Linked DNA regions of Homo sapiens: regions 1, 2 and 4 are each linked to region 3. The links are contacts of gene promoters, found by promoter capture Hi-C in blood cells and fetal thymus (Javierre and others, 2016). All regions are on one chromosome and are shown on one strand. The core of a region is centred on a gene start or on the middle of the fragment in contact, and the rest is flanking DNA. Distances in the headings are between cores, read along the strand shown.

Region 1 (5,151 bases), core at 2-2,501, 2.9 Mb before region 3:
TAAAAGTCAGCTTGGAAAAAATGAGAGAATTTAAAAAATTAACAACTATTTCACAGTTGGTTCCTATCTCTACTCAGTATTACCCAATTTAAATTTTATGTTGGTTTTCCATCCATTCCCCAGGCGCTTTCACAGAGCGGCCTGCCAGAGGCCATTAGCACACACCCCTCACAAATGGAGAAGCAGCGGCATTCAGATTCACCAGGAGCTGGACTGGCATTTGCACTCACTCAGTTCACCTGGTGATTGGCAAGCTTCTCTACTCTGAGTCGTGGTCACTTCCCTTCAGAATAGAATGTGGGGAACAACCTGAAGGGATCGTGATAAAAAAAGATTGTCTTTGATGTTGGATGGGATATGCAAATACGAATGAGAATAGGGTGCCTTAGTACTGTCAGAGTGTGCTGTGTTTTATTTGGGAAATGAGACAAAATCTTCCCATGATCAGCCATTCCATGTGACATCCCAACCCACACTCTGCTACTGACATTTTATCTCCCACTGAACAGCCTGGCTGTTGTAACATTTTCAGGATTCTTAATTTATGTCTTGCAGGATCTAAAATCAGATGGCAGGAACTTTAAGAAAATAACCAGTGTTGACAGGCACCTTATAAAAGAAGCTGGTACACCTTAGTGCTGCTAAAAGTTAGAGAATATTCTTTCGTTTCTTCTTCCAAAATATGTCCAGAAGTCAGTGGGATGGAGACAGTAGCTGTCCCAAATCATTTAATTTCTCTTTTCAATCTAAACTCTATGAAAGGCTTTTTCTTTCACTCAATATTTGCTAGCGCCTGGGACTCAAGAAGGCTAATGTCAATGGATCATTTTCTTTTGAGGTAGTCGAACTTTTTGTCGTAGAAAAATCTTCCTGAATCTATTCAGTATCAAAACATGGGGTGGGCCTGGCACGGTGGCTCATGCCTGTAATCCCAGCATTTTGGGAGTCTTGAGTTTGGCAGATCACTTGAGCCCAGGAGTTTGAGACTAGCCTGGGAAACATGGTGAAACCCCATCTCTACTAAAAATACAAAAAATTAGCCAGGCGTGGTGGCGCGCATCTGTGGTTCCAGCTACCCGGGAGACTGAGGTAGGAGAATCACCTCAGCCTGGGAAGTCAAGGCTGCAATGAGCCGAGATCACACCACTGTACTCCAGCCTGGGACAGAGTGAGACCCTGTTTCAAAAAGAATTTAAAAAAAAAAAAAAAAAAAAGGAAATCACTAGTCCCAAACCACTTATCCTTGGAGAAATATGGACATAAACCCAAATTGCATGTTCTTTCCATTATATCACAGTGTCTCTTTGTAAAAGTGGCAACTTTGGGCTGGCTTACATGAATTCGCTGAAACCTTTACAACATATTGGCGGTGCTGAATACTTGGGGCTCTTGAACGTAAGCCTGCAACCAGGATGCTGGTGTACACCCTCACCCTGGAATGCTCAGCCTTGATCCTCCTCTTTTCAGAATGGCTTCATATCTATTTATTTGTAACATAGTGCTTAACAGTAGGAAGTCTTGAGCCAAATGCCTAGCTCTGCCACTTATCCCTGACCTGAGCAAGTTACTTAGCTTCTCCAGGCGTCATTTTCCTGTATTCTAAAATGGAGATGATAATAGCATTTACCTTATAGGATTGTTGTGAAGATTAAATGAGTTTAGGGCAATGCTATATATAGGTTAGTATCATCCATCAATTTGCAACATGATTTCATAAGTGCATCTAGAATATGCTTGTGTAAACCTATGGTTAGATGATGAAGCTAAGAAAAGCCTGAGTCCATCCCTGGAGAGTAAGAAACTAGTATACTCCTTTTACACAGTACCTTGCACACAGCACAGGCTTAACAGACATATTTAAATTGAACTGAAGCGAATACTACCAGAACTGAAAGTGGTAGTTCCAGATCTTTCAGGCTCAAGGTCCAGATTTTACAAGTGTTTCTGATCACCCTCCCCCTACCTCATTTATCGCAAAGAGCAGAGGCCAGGAAAAGGATGAATAATCAATGACCTTAAAACTCAGGTGAGAATAAAAACCAGTTCTGAGAAACCGTGTGACATTTACATCCTGGTACCTGAGCTTTAGATCACTCTGCATGTGTATTTCCTCTGCACAAAGCCCAGGAGGCTACTTTTATATTATTGGGGCAAATCTCCCAACAGCCCTGGGTACTAAACAGCCTTCAGCAGGTGCTTCCAAATTTTCTTATTTGCTTCAACTCCCAGGTTGCCAGGGGAAGCTTGGCCGACAAGTCTATACTCCTGGGCAGACTGAGCAACAGCAGGTGGTGGCTTCTGGATAAGAGGTGCTCTAGGTCGGAAGGAAATAAATGAGACTACGATCAGTTAAAGTTCGGTAAAGCAAGAGACGCCTTCAACCCGACGACCAGACGGTGGCTCCGCAGCACAGACTCTCTCGGATGGTGGAATTCCCAACCGGCTTCGATGTAGCCCCGCCCCTACCCAGACCACGCCCACCAATCACCGCCCTCTCCCCCCCAGGCCCCGCCTGGAGCCCGCCCCTCCTAAAGCATGCTCCACCTGACTCCGACACTGCCGGGCTTAGTCCGCCGGGCTTAGTCCGTGGAGCGCTTGCGCATTTCTTGAGTTGTCGTGGCACTGCCCAAATCTGAATGGGGGAAAGAGGGAACTTCATATTTCCTACAGACTCCGCCACAGCGACTTTGCGTGCTCTCTTAGAGCTGGTTTTGCCTTTCGTGGTCCTGAGAACCCTGGCTTTTGGTTCCCCAATGCGGCTTAAGTGTGCAGGTTTTAAGTTAGGCGATCTTCGGGCAGCCCTAGTCCCAGCACCGGGTCCTTGCGCTGAGTCTCGGGACCACAGCCGGGGAGGCGGGGTCCTTCTCTGGGGCGGTCGCGTTGGCAGCGGATGCGGGAAGCCGGACTCTGGGCGTCATGTACTACAAGTTTAGTGGCTTCACGCAGAAGTTGGCAGGAGCATGGGCTTCGGAGGCCTATAGCCCGCAGGTACGAGTGGCGCCTGGCCAGCTCGGACATGAGAAGTGGCGGCCCTAGCCTCGGCGACAGGCAGTCGCGGCGTTGGAGCCAGGGGAGGCTTCTGCCCGCGGTCGAGTTCGTCTCTGTTCTCCTTGCACCTCCCGGGGCCTCTCCACACCAGCGTACGGTGGTCACTGAGGCTTCTTTTTGTGTACCTGCTCACCTGGCGGGGGCTGGCCTGGCGTGGAAGTTTGGTCTGGCTCACTGCAGGGGTCAAGGTGACCCCCGGGGTCACTTGTCTAAAAGGGATGGTTTGTGGGGGTCCCCAGTGTGACCCGAGTCAGAGGTCCGGCCTTCTCCCTCAATTCGAAGACATCTGGCTTTCGGCCTCCTTGTCGTTTGTCATCTGCCAGAGCCCCATAGGCAGCCTCACTTGAGCTCGAGATTAGAGAGCGCGGGGCTATAAAGGCGTTTAGAGAAACCATGGTGCAGGGGGTTGGGGGGCTATGATCTGGGTTGGGAAATTTAACAGGTTACTTAACACGTCCAGGGAGGGAAGTTGCATGCAGCGAGGTTACACTTTCCCGATTGTAAAATATTTGACAGATGCTCGTTGTTTGGGTTGTCTGAAAAGTATTCCATTTCACGCAGATTCTACCAATTGGAGTTTGACTCTCCAGCATGTGTTGGGGGTAAACATGAGGGATTTTAGAGCCCCAGACGTGCCTTTTCAAATCATGGCGTTTTCCGCTTTAATTGTGTGACCTTGGCCAAGTTATTTAATTTATTGTGAGCTCAGTTTCATCCAGGGCGGCGTTAGTACACATTAAATGAAGTGTGTCAAGTGACTAGCAGTTTGGGCAGGTGGTTGGTTCTGGATAAGTGTTAACTGTTCACCAGAAGCTGTCTGAGATAGTATATTCCCTCCTAATCCTCTAGAGAAGTGTGGGAAGTGTCGGTGAGATACGCAGTTAGACTGCAGTAGTGAGGGGCCCAGATGAGGTGTAAAGGATACTCCATTACTGTTGCTTCATTTCCTTTTTCTGTGGGACACTGCAGCTTGCCCAAGAGGCAGATGTTTAAGAAAGATTTCAGGTCTGGTACCGTGGCTCACGCCTGTAAATCACAGCACTTTGGAAGGCCGAGGCCGAGGGTCGCTTGAGCCCAGGAGTTTGAGATCAGCCTGGGGCAACATAGTGAGACCCTGTCTCTAAAAACAAAAACAGATGATTCTAATCTCAGATAAGAAGGGCAAGTTTTTTTTTTTTTTTTCGGGGGTTAGTGGGGGAGTTGCGGTGGGAACGGGAAGGAAGAGTTTAGGGTTTATAAATGTTGAGTTTGTGATATGTCATGCTTGGTAGCAGCTAGATTTTTGAATATGGAGTTTAATAAACTTGGGTGTCTTCAGCCCATAGGTGGTAATTTGTAGGGAAGAAAGGTTGGATTATAGTTAGAGTATAGAAACATGAGGGAAGGGTGGAGAAGGAGAATGTGTTTAAAGAATAGTCCGGATGAGAAGGGAAACCAGTGTGGTCTCACTGAAACCGAATTGGTAATGACTTGTAAGGAAGGAATAGTCAGCAGTGTTGCACTTCTTTTACAGATTATGTGAGAAAATGGCCATTTCTATCATCTGCTTCTATGAAATGTATTCTCCAGTGTATGGATATTAAATGTTACAGTTTGATGAGTTTGGACAAACCCATGTACTGTATAACCACACCTCCCTCAATATGCAAGATGTTACATCATCCCAGGAAGTTCCCTTGTACCCTCTGTCAATCCCTGCCACCTTCTTATTCTGACTTTTATCATCATAAATAGATAGTTTTGCCTTTTTTTGAACTTCATGTAAATGGAACCAGCTCTGACCCAGGCTGGAGTGCAATGGCACAGTCACAGTTCACTGTAGACTCACTCCTGAGCTCAAGTAATCGTCCTGCTTTTGCCTCTGAAAATGTTGGAATTACAGATGTGAGCCGCCGTGTCTGGCTGCTCAAAAAATATTTTTGAGGTTAGTCCGTGTTGTACGTATCAGTAGTTAATTCCTTTTATCCTCTTATTCTTCTGTGGGATTTCATTTTATAAATATATCACAGTTTATTCTGTTGGTGGTAGTAGATGTTCTTTTATTTATTTTTTTAAAATATTTTTTGAGACAGGTTCTTGCTGTGTTGCACAGCCTGATCTCGA
Region 2 (4,547 bases), core at 648-3,147, 2.7 Mb before region 3:
AGAAATGGACCGGCATCCTGTCTGGGCTAGACCCAAGTTAGGCTCTGTCTGTCTGGGAGAATGTCATTTCTGCTTTTGAATGTCTGATGGCTAAAGCTCCAGGCTCTTGCTCCTCAATCAACACCACCACATATTCGCAGTGTTGGCTCGACTTGCAGACCTTAATCTTTAGCTCCCACATAGATGAGACAATTCTTTTTTTAAAGACATTAAGGATATATTAAGCTTCTCTTCCCTGAATTCTGTTTCTCAAACTTCCATCATCATCCCCTACTACTACTTACTGAGTACCTAGTATGACCTAGATACTGGGGCAAACAAGGGAGACTTGGTCCATGCCTTCATAGGCCTTTAAGTACCATAGGTAATAATTGTATCATTGTATAACCAAGTTAGAGATAAAAAAATAAAATGACAGACAGCTCACAGCCTTCTGTCTCATTAATATTGCATTCACCCCACCTAACAAAGTAGGAGATCTAATAGTCAAGTTCTTCAGTGTTCTCTTGGCTCACTTCCCAGCTGTGGTCAAATTCTCTGCATGCTCTTTCCTCCTTTTCTGGATTACTTGAGGAATTGCCAGGAGAGCAGAGGCATGAAGAATGCAGGCAGCGAAAGAGAAAAAGCATCTGCAAATGACTGACCGAAGCCAGTTGTAGTTAGACAGAATCAGGGTTCTCAGTTGCAAGCAACAGAAACCAACTCTGATTGATTTAAACAGAAAAATAATTTGTTGAAATGCTATTGGGCAACTCATAGAAAAACTGGGAAGGCTAGAGAAATAGGCTCAAAAAACACAGGAACCAGAAATTCAGGATCACAGCCAAGGCTATAGGTACAATCACAGCACAGGGCCTAAGATGATGATACCACTGTTGCCACTGCCCAGTGCTGGACCACAACTTACATTGTCACCCTCTTCAGCTGCAGACACTGGATACCACCATAAGCACCACTGCACTGGGAGCTTGTATATTTTTGCTGCCCTGCAGTTTCCTGTGAAAAGGGATCCGTATTTGTTGGTGCCAGTAATTTCTGATTCCTTCTGGAGCAGCTGCACCTGTTGGCCAAGTCTCGGTTATGTGTCCATATCCTACCTTTAAAAGAGACTAGAAAGGAGAGTATCTGGGCCAGGCGTGGTGGCTCATGCCTGTAATCCCAGCACTTTGGGAAGCCAAGGTGGGTGATCACCTACGGTCAGGAGTTCGAGACCAGCCTGACCAATATGGTGAAACCTTATCTCTACTAAAAATATAAAAATCAGTCGGATGTGATGGTGGGCACCTGTAGCCCTAGCTACTCAGGAGGCTGAGACAGGAGAATTGCTTGAACCCGGGAGGTGGAGGTTGCAGTGAGCTGAGATCACCCCACTGCACTCCAGCCTAGGTGACCAAGCAAGACTCCGTCTCAAATAAAATAAGATGAAATAAAATAAGAGAGTATCTGGTCCTTAGGGCTCTTTCTTAGGACACCAAGATTCATAAAAAGGTAAATGTCCTAAACATGTGAAGGGAGTTCAGATGCTGAGTAACCACAAATGACTCTACCTAAACCTCCTTCCTCTAATCCCATGTGATAGGGAGGGCCTGGGTCAACATTGCTGAAGAGCCAGAAAATCAGAAATGAGTCCAGTATCCACATTCCAGCACTAAGCCCAGTATCTACCAACCCGAGAAGCAACTGCCCTAGGCAAGCAAGGGCAGCACAATCAGGTTGACCTCTCCTCGGGGACGAAGGAAAGATGGCCCCCTCTCTCCCACAGGAGACTCCCTCAGCCCCAGTGAGGAGAGGAGAGGGAGCAGTGGGCAGGCTGTTTGATCCTCCCCACCTGCACCTGGATCAGCCCTGCCTGCTCCAGTCATCCTTTTCACACCAGCAGGAAGGAAATTGAAGCTACTGCCATTGAAAACACAAAAGACAAAAGCCCGTGCCAGAGGTTTGTACCTTTGGCCTTGACCTCTCATCCCAGGCCTGCTGCTTAGATTTTTGATAATCTACAGACTCACCATGATTTTGCCACAGCTAGCCACCAAGCCCTAGGGGTGTTACCTGAGATGGGGATGGGTGGGCACGGAGAGGGACATGTGTGTTAATCAACAACCCACAGCCCCTGGGCCTCAAATAAAACAAACAAAAAAATGGAAACTCTGTTTTGAGTCATCTAATTATTTGTTCCCTGCCTTTGGAGGAGAGGCAAACTAACCCAAAGTGTAGCCCTCATTAGAAGGTGATCCATACCATCAGGGAGTCTCTCAAGTCATTCTCACGATCCTATCCTGGGGTGGGCCCTTGGTGACATCCTGTTTTCCTCTATTCCTTTACTGGGGATGTGGCTGGGAAGCGCCTTCTTGGCAGGGTGCATAATTCCCACTGTCTGATTCTAGCTTGGGGAGAGGAGGGTGGGGTGACAAGTAGAGTGTGTCTGTTCCCATTCTTTCCTCTACCCCTAACCACAAACTTAGCTTCCACCCCCACTCTTTCCTTAAGGCTGTCAGAAGCTCCTGAGGGAGCCACATATGAAGGCTTCATAACAGCTCTGGGCTGTTGAAAACTCCTGAGTACACGTTTATTAATAAAAATCACTAGAAACCAATATATTTAGAATACATTAGCTTAATTCCTTATAAAAATTTTTGCACTGAGCCAAGGTTCAATACTGGAGTTCTGACTTCTTTTTTTTTTTTTTTTTTGGGACAGGGTCTCTCGCTCTGTCACCTAGGCTGGAGTGCAGTGGTGCCATCTCGGCTCACTGTAACCTCCACCTCTGCCTCCTGGGCACAAGTGATCCTCCTACCTAAGCCTCCCGAGTAGCTGGGATGACAATGATGCCTGACTAATTTTTTTTTTGTATTTTTAGTAGAGACAGGGTTTCACCATGTTGCCCAGGCCGGTCTCGGACTCCTGAGCTCAAGCCATTTGCCTGCCTCGGCCTCCCAAAGTGCTGGGATTACAGGTGTGAGCCACTGCTTCCCACCAGTTCTGACTTTCTTAGAGGGTAATCACAGAAAAACAAACAAACAAACAAACAAACAAACCCTTTTTGTATATTCTGAAAACTCAATTGGAGTCATTGCTCATTCTGTTTCTCAGAATCCTGTCTTTTAGGATCTATGTAATAAATTTCACTTACAATTTAGCATGAGGGAAAAGATTACATTTCCTCATGAGCTGATATTGCTTCCTTTTTTCAGACAGTAAGAGTGATGTAACCAATTGTGTTTCACTTTTTGATTGAGCTGTCAGGAAGCCCAGACTTCAATTTAGTATCCATTTACAGAATTATCTTATCTCTGGTTCCTGATCTTCTCCTTCCTCTGTATGGCTTCCCATCTCCCCTTTCATCTGTATGTCAACTGTCTCCCCTATTTGCACAGGTCAGCTACACCCAAGGCCACCCAGAAGTTGATCTCACTTTCCTGAGTACCCAGGCTAGTTGGAGAGAAAAACTCACAGGCTAGCACACAGGGAACTATTAGCAGAATATGTTCAAATGTTAAATTAGAAGAAAAAGAGTTTTAGGGATTGAGCAGACAGATTAGTGAAAATTGGAGCAGTCAAAAGAAAGCTTCCTGAAGGAGGTGGTACTCAGAGCAGACAGATTAGTGAAAATTGGAGCAGTCAAAAGAAAGCTTCCTGAAGGAGGTGGTACTCAGAGTAAGCTTCGAAGGCTTGCAGTTCGTTTCAGGGGTTCATTTCAGTGGACCAGCTATATGCCTTGGTTTGGACCATAGGAGGCTTTGGGGCAAATACCTGGGACGTTGGTTGTCTCTTCCCTTGAGGGCAGGTTCTGAAGCTCTCTGACTAGCTGGTGCACTGCTTTCTGGGAATCAACTATGTGAGGCTGATAGAGTCAGTCCTCAGTAAAATGGTACAGCAGGTGGCACTGGTCTAGGTGCTATTGGTGTTTACGATGGGACAATTCTTCATTAGAACAAAACTTCATTGGAACTATACCTAATGTACTATATTTAGCATCTTGATCCACATCTGCCAAATGCCACTAGCAACCCCTAATTTTTGGGACAACCCCAAATGCCTGTATGCTTTCCCTGCAGCCCCTGGGGGACAGTTCCACACAGATGAGACCCACCACTCCCTCAAATGCCTGAGGTTCTCCTCTCTAGCCTGCCACCCAAACTAGGATTTCCAGATTTAGCAAAAACACAAAACAAAACAAAACAAAACACAGATCATCCCGTCAAATTTGAATTTCAGACAATGAATTTTTTATTATAAATATATCCCAAATATTGCATTAGTTTTCTATAGCTGAAATTAAAATATAACTAGGGGTCTTTATTTTATTCATTGCCCTACCCACAACCCTTCATCACCACAGACAAACCTGCTTTCCAGAAATTTCCATTCAGTTGATCATGCTCTGTGTACTGAATCATTCCCTACTTGTCTGTTAAGACTCATCTATTTTGTATTTCAGTCACGCATATTCACTGTCTGTGCTAAGTCTCAGTTGGATGGTAAATACTTTTTTTTTTTTTTTTTTTGAGACGGAGTGTCCCTCTGTGGCCCAGGCTGGAGTGCAGTGG
Region 3 (4,974 bases), core at 888-3,387:
ACAAAACACTGAAGTCATTAGAACTTTCTTGTGCAGCTTTCAGTCCTGAGAATTTGGCTTTCTGGCACTAAAAAGGCAGAGGCCGGGTGCAGTGGCTCATGCCTGTAATCCCACCACTTCAGGAGGCCGAGGCAGGCGGATCATCTGAGGTCGGGAGTTCAAGAGCAGCCTGACCAACAAGGAGAAATCCCATCTCTACTAAAAATACAAAAATTAGCTGGGTGTGGTGTTGCATGCCTGTGATCCCAGCTACTTGGGAGGCTGAGGCAGGAGAATCGCTAAGAACCCGGGAGGCAGAGGTTTCAGTGAGCTGAGATTGCACCCTTGCACTCAAGCCTGGACAACTAGAGCGAAACTCCTTCTCAAAAAAAAAAAAAAAAAAAAGGCAGAGGAAAAGAGCAGACCTGGCTTCCATTTGGGATAATTTGTCAGGTCTGCTTATCTGAATCCTTGGCTAATTATTCTTGCGCTTGGCCTAAACATGCCAAACAATTCTCCAAATGTGGACAAACTGAAGGAAGGCCTGTAATCTGGGTCCTGGGCAAGTACCTTAAACAAGCAAAAGCAAGACCTTTGGCTATGGAATAACATTTATAGTCAGGAGTTTCTCAAGATACCAGAGCCTGAAGGTAGATCCATCGAGAAGATATTCAATGATATGCACTCCTAAGGCAATAATTTAAGTGATACTTTCATATTACTGATGCTTTAAAATTTAATAATTAAAAATTACACAACTGAAAGGCTACTTATATAGGTGAAGAGATAACCATTTTCAAACATCAATTTAGTCAACAGATACTCAAAGTAAACAATTTGAGAATTTAGTACATATGCAATTTTCCTATGAGCAAAAGGATTCAAAAGATTTTTTGAAAAAGTATGAAGCAGTTAACTCTAAGTAGTTTGCTCTACTATTAATTTATTATACTTATCCTTAACAGGTTTGATGAGACCTAGTTTCTCAGGAGCCACGAGGTATTAGGGAATATTAGTGGTTAGAAGGTGTGGTGCCTAAGGGGATTAGGAAAGCATTTCTGAAGCAAAACTCCAACGTGGTATTGCCAAAGTGGCCATCACCTAATTGATTAAAGCTCCTGCAAATGTCTATTGGGAAGTTCAATGAGAACAGAAAAATAACCTTCCATTACCCTCAAGCTTTCTTGGGCAAGTATTAACAATCGGAGCTGGAGTCCACATAGCTCAGATGTAAGACGCGCAATCTGGGTCTTAAGCAGGGTGGGGTTTTTGGGTAGGTAAGGTCACAGCTAAAGAGCTTCCGGATCGTCACGTGTTTATATTTCAGGTGCGGTAATAGATCTAGTCCACTCTCCACCCCTTCTTTACAGGGTTGCTTGACAGCCTGCGCAGTCCCCGCCCGTCTTTGATAATCCAACCCTCTTCGAAGAGGGAGGTCAATCACTGCTTTAGTTCTGCGCTCTGCCTGCCTCCCACGCGGGATGGTGGGCAGCTGTTCCGCGTGTTTTCCTCCCGGAGCTTTCACGCTCTGCCCACTGCACACACCTCCCTCGCGGCCCTCCTGGCCTGCCCTCCTTTGCACCCTGGCAGGCCAACTCCAAGGGTCCGAGTGTCGGTGACAGGGGCAAGCAAGCACAGCTCACTTTTCCTGGGGGTTTTCCTCACGGTGTGTTTAGTGACCCCTCCCCGCAATCCCAGAAAGGCTGCAGCACTCCATGGTATCCTACATGTAGCTGCTTCTAAAATAATAAAGGCTGGGACATTGGCTGTCTTGGATATTACCACTATGCTACCTGCTTGGAACTGGGACCAGATAGACCAAGGTCCAACTTTGTCGTTAGGGGAATCAGAAACGAAAAGAAGCCACTTTCTGCTAGTCCTAACCCCGGTCCCTGGGCCAGGCAAACCTTTTCAAGCGTCCGGCGGCAGCGGCCGGGCGCGGGTCCGCAGAAAAGCCGAGGCGTTTCGGGTCCCAAGCTGTTCCGCCGCCGGCCCCGGCCTGGCAGGCGCGCGGAGCCGGAACGCGCAAGGGGTCGGGTGCGCGCCAGGCCTGGCGCGCTCCCTCCGGGATCGCGGCTGCGCAGTCGGGCGGGAGTCGGGAAAAGGGGAGGAGGTTGGAGGAGCCGGAGTAAGGGGAGGGGGAGGAGCGGCGAAAGCGGAAGCCATGTTGGAGTTTCACCCCGAGCGAGGGGCTGCGAGGGTTCTCCTCTCCTTGTGGGTGTGACCAGGTTCGGCGCGGCGGCGGGCCGCGGGGGGCGGGGACGATTGGCCGCTTGTCGTCGTCCGCAGCGGCGTGAGGGGAGCGGCGGCGGCGGCGGCGGCCGCAGCGTGGAGCCGGGTGATTGTGACCGCCGGGGGAGCCGGGAGCCGGCCGCGGCGCCCTCTCTCCGTGTGGCCCCCTGAGCGGCCCCCCTCCCCTGCCCGGGAGGGAGGCGGGGGGCACCTGGGGCCCGCCATGAACCCCGGCTTCGATTTGTCCCGCCGGAACCCGCAGGAGGACTTCGAGCTGATTCAGCGCATCGGCAGCGGCACCTACGGCGACGTCTACAAGGTAAAGGCAGGGGCCGCGCGCCGCCGAGGCCGTGGGATCCCGACCCGCAGCCAAGCCTGGGCGTCCGAGCCCTTGCCGCCTGTCCTCGGGAGACGCTGGCGCCAGGGAGCAGTCGGGGAGGAGGAGCTGCGGACGCCAAGGGCTCTGCTGCCTTGGTGAACAAAGGGCCGAATGTTTAACCCCGAGACCTCCCCAGCCCTTACCTGAGCCCCCCCGGTGGACATGATTTTTGCCACCTCCCTTCTTGCGCGCATTTCCAGGGAAGGGCAGAACGAGAGCAGGCCACACTGCTCATCCATAGTGCAGAGAAGGTCTGGGCGTTTGTTGCGTTGGCAGGGTCAGCGCGACGAACCGGACAGCAGGGGTCTGGTGTTGTCAAACCTGCCTGCTTCACGCCAACCTGGGGTCGTCCGCTCTAGGTTGGGAGCTGCTGCCCACCAGGCCTCGGTGGTAGTTATTATACTATGCTGAGCGACCTCCATCTTCCATCGACAGCTCTCAGCCTTTAGCGCCTTATTCATCCCCCTGTCAGTTTCTTTTAATTTTCCAGAGTAATGACTTTTTTTTTTTTTTGGAAAGAGCAACTTTGTTTTCTCTAAGTCGAATTGGACTGCGATGCCATTTAAACTTGTTTTTTAAAAAGTGACTTGAATACTTAGGGAAGGTACTGGTTTGACAAGGTTAGAATTCAAAGTCCAGTAGCGGTACAGCATTCCTGTTGTAGAGGGACCACTTCTAAATGTGGGAAGATAAATCACTCTTCCCTGGCCAACTCAACTCTTGGCCTCACAGTTACTGCCAAGAAGAGAGGAGGTTGTTGCCAAATGTGGCAGCAGTCTTGATTTAGTTGTGTATCTTCTTACTGGTAACTGAAGTTGAACTCCTCCAGTTTCACATAACACCTGAGGATGCACAAAGAAACTTAATTTTGCATTGGAAAGTTCAGTCTTAACTTTATTTTGCCCATGTTTAAGCAGGTTTTTACTCTTCAGTGTAATGCCTGTGGTAACTTACATATTTAATACAGTGCAGCCAGTGTTCTGCTTTAGTCTGATTTTCTGGATGATCTACTTTTCACCATCGTGGATCTCATCACTTTTCCTACTATGCAATATAGATATATTGAGCCCACCTACAATGTATGAGATACTTGGCAAGTAAGCACTTTGGGTTGTAGCAGTAAACGATAGACTTGGTTCCAAATCTTCCTAAGTGTTTCTATTTTTTTGGACAAGGACAGTATTAAATAGCCATTTAAATAATTATTGCCGTTTAATTTTGTGATGCAGAAAAGAGTATTAGGATCAGGGTTATGAGAGCATGTAATAGGAGGACCTGATCCTGTTTAGGGTATCAGACGCTCATCGCCTTTCAGCTGAGATCTCAGAGATGATTAGGCGTTGCTTAGGGTACTGGGGAGAGGGGATTACGCCAGATAGGGGAGCATGATATGTGAAGGCTCTGAGGCCCGATGTGAAAGAAGGCCTGTATAGCCTGAGCAGCCAGAGCGGGAGGGTGGCCCTAGATCTTGCAGGCCTCTTAGTTCTCATTAGGAGATCGGACTTGTTTAGGACAATGGGGAACTATTGCAGGCTTTTAAGCAGAGGAGTGACATTAGATTTAGGTTTTTAAAAGAGCTCCCTACTACAGCATGAAGAGTGGAATGGAGCAGTTGGGAGGCCACTGTGATAGTCTAGGTAAGAATAATGGTGTTAAGGAATATGGTGATGACTGTGAAAGTAGAAGTGGATGGATGCAAGTCACTTATGACTGGTTGGGGGAGTTCGCTTATATTGCGATGAAAAGTTAACTAAAACTCGATGAATGTATACGTTTTAGGTGGCAGGGTATACAGTGAATTTTTTTACAGGACTAATTGGCTGTGTACTTGCTATATTAAAAAGAACAGTTAGTAGTTAAGCCACATGATTAAAAAGCAAAAAAAAATTAGGGCCTGTAATTTCCTAAGTGTAATAGAGGTATACTAAGTTGGTTAATCTTGTCATTCGTTTAAAATAATGATAATACTAGCTGATGTTTATGGAATGCTTGTTACTTGCCAGGCACTATAAGATTTTTCTAATTAATCCTAACAGCAACCCTGTGAGATAGGTGCTATTGTTAACTCCATTTTGCAGTTGAATAAACTGAGGCACAAGGAGATTAACTTGCCAAAGTTGGTAGGTGGCAAAGCCAAAATTTGAACCAATTAGGGACTGTATTCTTAACCAATTGGCAGTGCTGCCTCTCTAAAGATAGGAGATGGGCAGATAATGTATTACATTTCCAGTGGAGAAACTGAGGCACACATTTAGTTTAGCATTTGAGTTGTAGCCACACTCTGAGTCAGTGTAGATCTTTAAGTAGTAGTTGGAATACCTAATTCCTGCTGTGCCACAAGGTCTCACTGTTTATGTAGTCTGCCAAGTGGATATCAGATAATA
Region 4 (4,448 bases), core at 1,054-3,553, 2.7 Mb before region 3:
GTAATCAAGACAATTTTTATTTGTCTTGACAAATACCCAGACAAATTATATTTGTCTTAATACAAATACCCAATTTGATATTTGTATTGAGATAGAAAAATAGATCAATGTAACAGAATAGAGAATCCAGAATAGACCCACAAATATATGGTCAATTGTCAATTGACTTTCAACAAAAGTGCAAAGACACTTCAGTAGATAAAGATCAGTCTTTTCAATAAATGGTGCTAGAACTATTGGATATTCATAGATTATAGACAAAAAACTAAACATCATTCTAAACTTTGCATTATATACAAAAATTAACTCAAAATAGACTTAAATATAAAATCTAAACGTATAAAAATTTTGGAAGCAAACAGGAGAAAATCTCTGTGACCTTGGGTTAGGTAAAGATTTCTCAGATCACCAAACGCACCATCCATGCAAGAAAATTAATACGCTGGGCATGGTGGCTCACGCCTGTAATCCCAGCACTTTGGGAGGCTGAGGCGGGTGGATCACCTGAGGTCAGGAGTTTGAGAGCAGCCTGGCCAACATGGTGAAACCCCATCTCTACTAAAAATACAAAAATTAGCCAGGCGTGGTGGTGTGCGCCTGTAGTCCCAGCTACTCGGGAGGCTGAGGCAGGAGAATGGCGTGAACCCGGGAGGCGGAGCTTGGAGTGAGCCGAGATCGCGCCACTGCACTCCAGCCTGGGCGACAGAGCGAGACTCCGTCTCAAAAAAAAAAAAAAAAAAAAAAAGAAAAAAGAAAACTAATAAATTGCATTGCATCAAATTAAGAATTTCTGTTCTTGAAAGGCATTGTTAAGGAAATAAAAAGATTAGGAGAAAGGATTTGCCAATCATATATCTTACCAAGGAGTTGTTTGCAGTATATATAGACTCTTAAAACTCAACAGTTAAGAAAAAGCAAAACAAAACCCTGGTTAAAATATAAGCAGAAGGCATGAAAGATTCGTCACCAGAGAAGATACAAGGATGGCAAATATGCCCATGAAAGATTTTTTCAACCTCAGTAGTTATTAGGGAAATTTAAATTAGTACTGTAATGGAATACCATTACACAGCTATTAGAACGGTTAAAATAAAAAAAAAAACTGAGAATATCAACTGCTAGGAAGTATGTGGAGTAACTAGAACTCTTACACATTTCTGGTAGGTAAGCAAAATGGTACAACCACTTTGGAAACATTTTGGTAGTTTCTTTTCAAGTTAAACATACACTTACCATACCCACTTCTAGGTATTTACCTTGAAAAATGGAAACATACATGCTTATATCTGTACATGACTGTTTATAGCAGTTTATACTGCTTATTTTCAATTGCCCCAAATGAGAAACAACCCAAGTATCCTTTAGTTGTGAATGGTTAGACAACATGTGGTACATCCACACAATGGGATACTACTTACCGATAAAAAGAATAAACTATTAACACATGCAAACACGGATGACTCTCAGAACAATTACACCGAGTGAAAGAAACCAGCTCCCCCTGCCCTCTCCCTGCAAAACATGCACACCATATGGTTTCACTTATTTAAGCTTCTAGAAAATACAAATTAATCCATAGTGATAGAAAGCAGATCAGTGGTTGCAGAAAGAAGGGTGGGACAACAAAGGGGCACGAAAATTTGGGGGGTGAATAGCTTGATTGTGGTGATGGTTTCACAAGAATATAACATGTCAAAACTCATCCAATTGTATACTGAAATATGTTTGTCTTATTATTTGTCAGTTATACCTCAAGAAAGCTCTTTTTTTTTCAAAGTCCAGGTGATTCTAATAGGCAGCTGAATTTGAGGACCACTGAAACACACATACGTAACTCTCCTAAGTCCATCAGGTTTTGGCTTACTGCCACAGAGTTTTCTATTGTTCGGATTCCAGTCTTGTTACAAATATGAAACTTACAGGATAACTACAGAATGACCATACATAAAAATCATCAGATAATTTCACTTCAGAAATTCCAGGGCCTTCACTTTAAGCCATAGGGAAGCCCTAGATAAAAATTACTAATTTGAAATGAAATACAGCAAGAGACTCAAGCCTCTAAGCTTCCAGGGCTATAAATCATCTACAGTGCAGAGATGATTTTGGATCTGATAATTTGGTAAATTGCTTCTCTCATCCCTCATAGACTCAGCTTCTACACTTCCCTTATTTTGTCAGAGTTTTTTACTAGAACTCACTCCATTTTTTGCTTCTCTTTACTTTGACCTAACCTGTAGGGCTTCCAAAAATAGGTACTTGAGTGTATTGAAGAAGTTACTAACTTTGTTAAGTTATGCAAGACTTCCCTAAATAAGTATTATTTCCTCTTTCCTCTCAGTGACTCACACAGTACACTCTATAAAGGATTTGAAAGTGGCTGAAGGAAACTAGTTTGTCCCTTGTGCCCAGTTTTGCTCAGAAGCAGGAGAAAGACCTAGGGTGGCATATTTTAACCTTGAATATGTGTGTGACTCACCCAAGAATCCTGTAAAAATGCAGATTTGGTGTCAGCAAGAGTGGAGTAGACTCAAGCTTCTGCTTGAGTTTCTCCCCAGTGATGCTGATGCTGCTAGTTGGGTCACAAGACACATGACCTTTCAAAGTCCTTTCATCCCTGGGACACTGCAAAACAATAATGACCCTAATGGGGAGGAAGTCATTCAAGTCAAAGAGAGGAGCACTGCGTTACTACTGCCTTGATTACACTCTCCAAGTGTTGAACCTCCTGCCTTATGTAAATGTTTATACATCTGGTAAGGGTAAAGATTCACTTGCTGTGAATAGCTCAGGATGTTTAAAAAGTGTTGGTTGGATTTTTCTTACCTTTTTCTGGAAATAATTTGCAATAGATAAGATGGTTTTTCTAGGTTATATTTAGTTAACCCAACTTAAGCCACTTTATAACTGCTGCATCTAGCCACTTCTTGTGTGTATGCTTACTTTATTTTCAAAAATATGTAATGTCAAGGTATGAAATACCAATGTTTCATATACTATTTAGCTGAGGTTTTCAGTTCTTATGACAAATGGGCTGATTTCTCTCCTAGATCCTGAGGGGATTATATTGTATGTCCTGATTTTTCCTCTTTTTGAGGCAAAGATAGCACTAGTCATAGCAGCAGTTGCTTCTAATGATTTAGAGTTATAGTAAAATCTGTTGGAACGAATTGAAGGACAGTATTGTGGCATGGTTATGAATCTTCCTGGGGAAGCTGGCTGCAGCCTTTGGGTGGGTCTTTCTCACCCACTACTTCCCCCCCGCTCTGCTTTGTAAATCAAACTGCATGGTTTTTTTCCAAAGCAAATTCCTGATTTTTGGAAAGGAATCAAATAGTTTAGTTTTGCCTAAAACTGACACATTTAAACACATTTCAAATATATGTGAATTTGTAATTTAAACAAAACAAACTCGATGTGCTTTAAAGAGGCCAATCTATATTTTCAGAAAACTCTTATTATCGGTAATTTTCCATCTCAGTTTACCTTGATATTTAAATCAGTTCATCATGATTTTCAGTGAAAATAACTGAGAAAAAGGCATCCATAAAGGCTAAGAGTAAATCCATATTCATAGCTCTGTATTCCTCATCCAAGATTCCTTATTAAGTGATTACAGGAGCAGTTTTCTGTCTTTCAAGTCCATTTCTGCAGAAGAATTTGAATCACCACTGGAATGAATGTGGTAACGGGAGTAGTTCTGTCAACAATATGTGACACAAGGAAGGGAGTGCAGAAACTGGGCTGTCTGGACTACGGTTTTGGATGAGGTTTGGGATTTTTGTTGTTGCCAGAAAACTCAAAAGTTCAAAGAGAGTAGAAAAGCATATTGATTAGCTCTGGACTGGTCAAAGACTAGATTTATATCTGAGCTTAACTAATGTTTTACACATGGTCTCCTTTGTATTTTAAAATTTTTGTACCCCTGGTTAGTTAAAGGCAAGGACCAGCTGAAAGCAATTCCTCTTCTTGTCTTCTCTCCTCCAAATCAAGGCCATTTAGTTGGTAGGTAGATATTAAATCTCTAGGAACAAAGAGGAATGTTACTGGCCCAAATGTCCCATGATCCCTGAAGTTCATGTTGGTGCCAGAAGAGCTTCATGGCTTATTTTTCTCCCTAAATCTTCTACTCCAGAGGCCACATTTGCAGGGATATCTGGAGAACTGAGATGAACACTTGCCTCTCTGCCAATTCATCTTTCTTTTGGCCAGTTTATCAAGGATATTTGGATCTGCTGATGCACATTTCAGCCCCATCAGTTAATTTTCATTACAAAATTATGTTGCTAACATTATCAAGAGCATTGTGCCAAGCACTTTACACATATTACCTTATTTATTCCTCGTGATACCCATATTACAGGTGAGGAAACTGAGGCTCAGGCAGGTCACGTAACTTGCCCAAGTCCTCAAGGCCAGGATCCAAAATACAGACAGTTTAACCTCGA

The links. The method cuts DNA at HindIII sites, captures the fragments that hold promoters and counts their contacts. A CHiCAGO score of 5 or more calls a contact.
Region 1: a contact is called between a fragment that was not itself captured here and the fragment with the promoter of MAP4K3 in region 3, in 1 of 17 cell types (total CD4 T cells). The highest score is 5.7, in total CD4 T cells.
Region 2: a contact is called between a fragment that was not itself captured here and the fragment with the promoter of MAP4K3 in region 3, in 1 of 17 cell types (M0 macrophages). The highest score is 5.3, in M0 macrophages.
Region 4: a contact is called between a fragment that was not itself captured here and the fragment with the promoter of MAP4K3 in region 3, in 1 of 17 cell types (M0 macrophages). The highest score is 5.3, in M0 macrophages.

What each region holds. Positions count from the first base shown.
Region 1 is chr2:42,358,927-42,364,077 of GRCh38, reverse strand. COX7A2L (cytochrome c oxidase subunit 7A2 like) reads left to right here and starts at 2,861. Exons shown (of 3, transcript NM_004718.4): 1 at 2,861-2,988. The coding sequence starts at 2,917. RefSeq lists enhancers at 2,121-2,210, 2,771-2,830, 2,200-2,943, 2,851-3,170, 2,944-3,688 and 1 more and a silencer at 2,401-2,570. The HindIII fragment of the contact is 1,989 bases long and covers 257-2,245 here.
Region 2 is chr2:42,134,785-42,139,331 of GRCh38, reverse strand. No RefSeq gene overlaps it. Among named protein-coding and RNA genes, the nearest start is that of EML4, 32 kb to the left of the region's middle. The HindIII fragment of the contact is 3,340 bases long and covers 228-3,567 here.
Region 3 is chr2:39,434,448-39,439,421 of GRCh38, reverse strand. It overlaps MAP4K3 (mitogen-activated protein kinase kinase kinase kinase 3), which reads left to right and starts at 2,137. Exons shown (of 34, transcript NM_003618.4): 1 at 2,137-2,530. The coding sequence starts at 2,435. It overlaps MAP4K3-DT (MAP4K3 divergent transcript), which reads right to left and starts at 2,006. Exons shown (of 6, transcript NR_037875.1): 1 at 1,887-2,006. RefSeq lists silencers at 1,884-2,103, 2,174-2,533 and an enhancer at 2,864-2,943. The HindIII fragment of the contact is 5,405 bases long and covers 1,161-4,974 here.
Region 4 is chr2:42,116,301-42,120,748 of GRCh38, reverse strand. No RefSeq gene overlaps it. Among named protein-coding and RNA genes, the nearest start is that of EML4, 51 kb to the left of the region's middle. The HindIII fragment of the contact is 469 bases long and covers 2,069-2,537 here.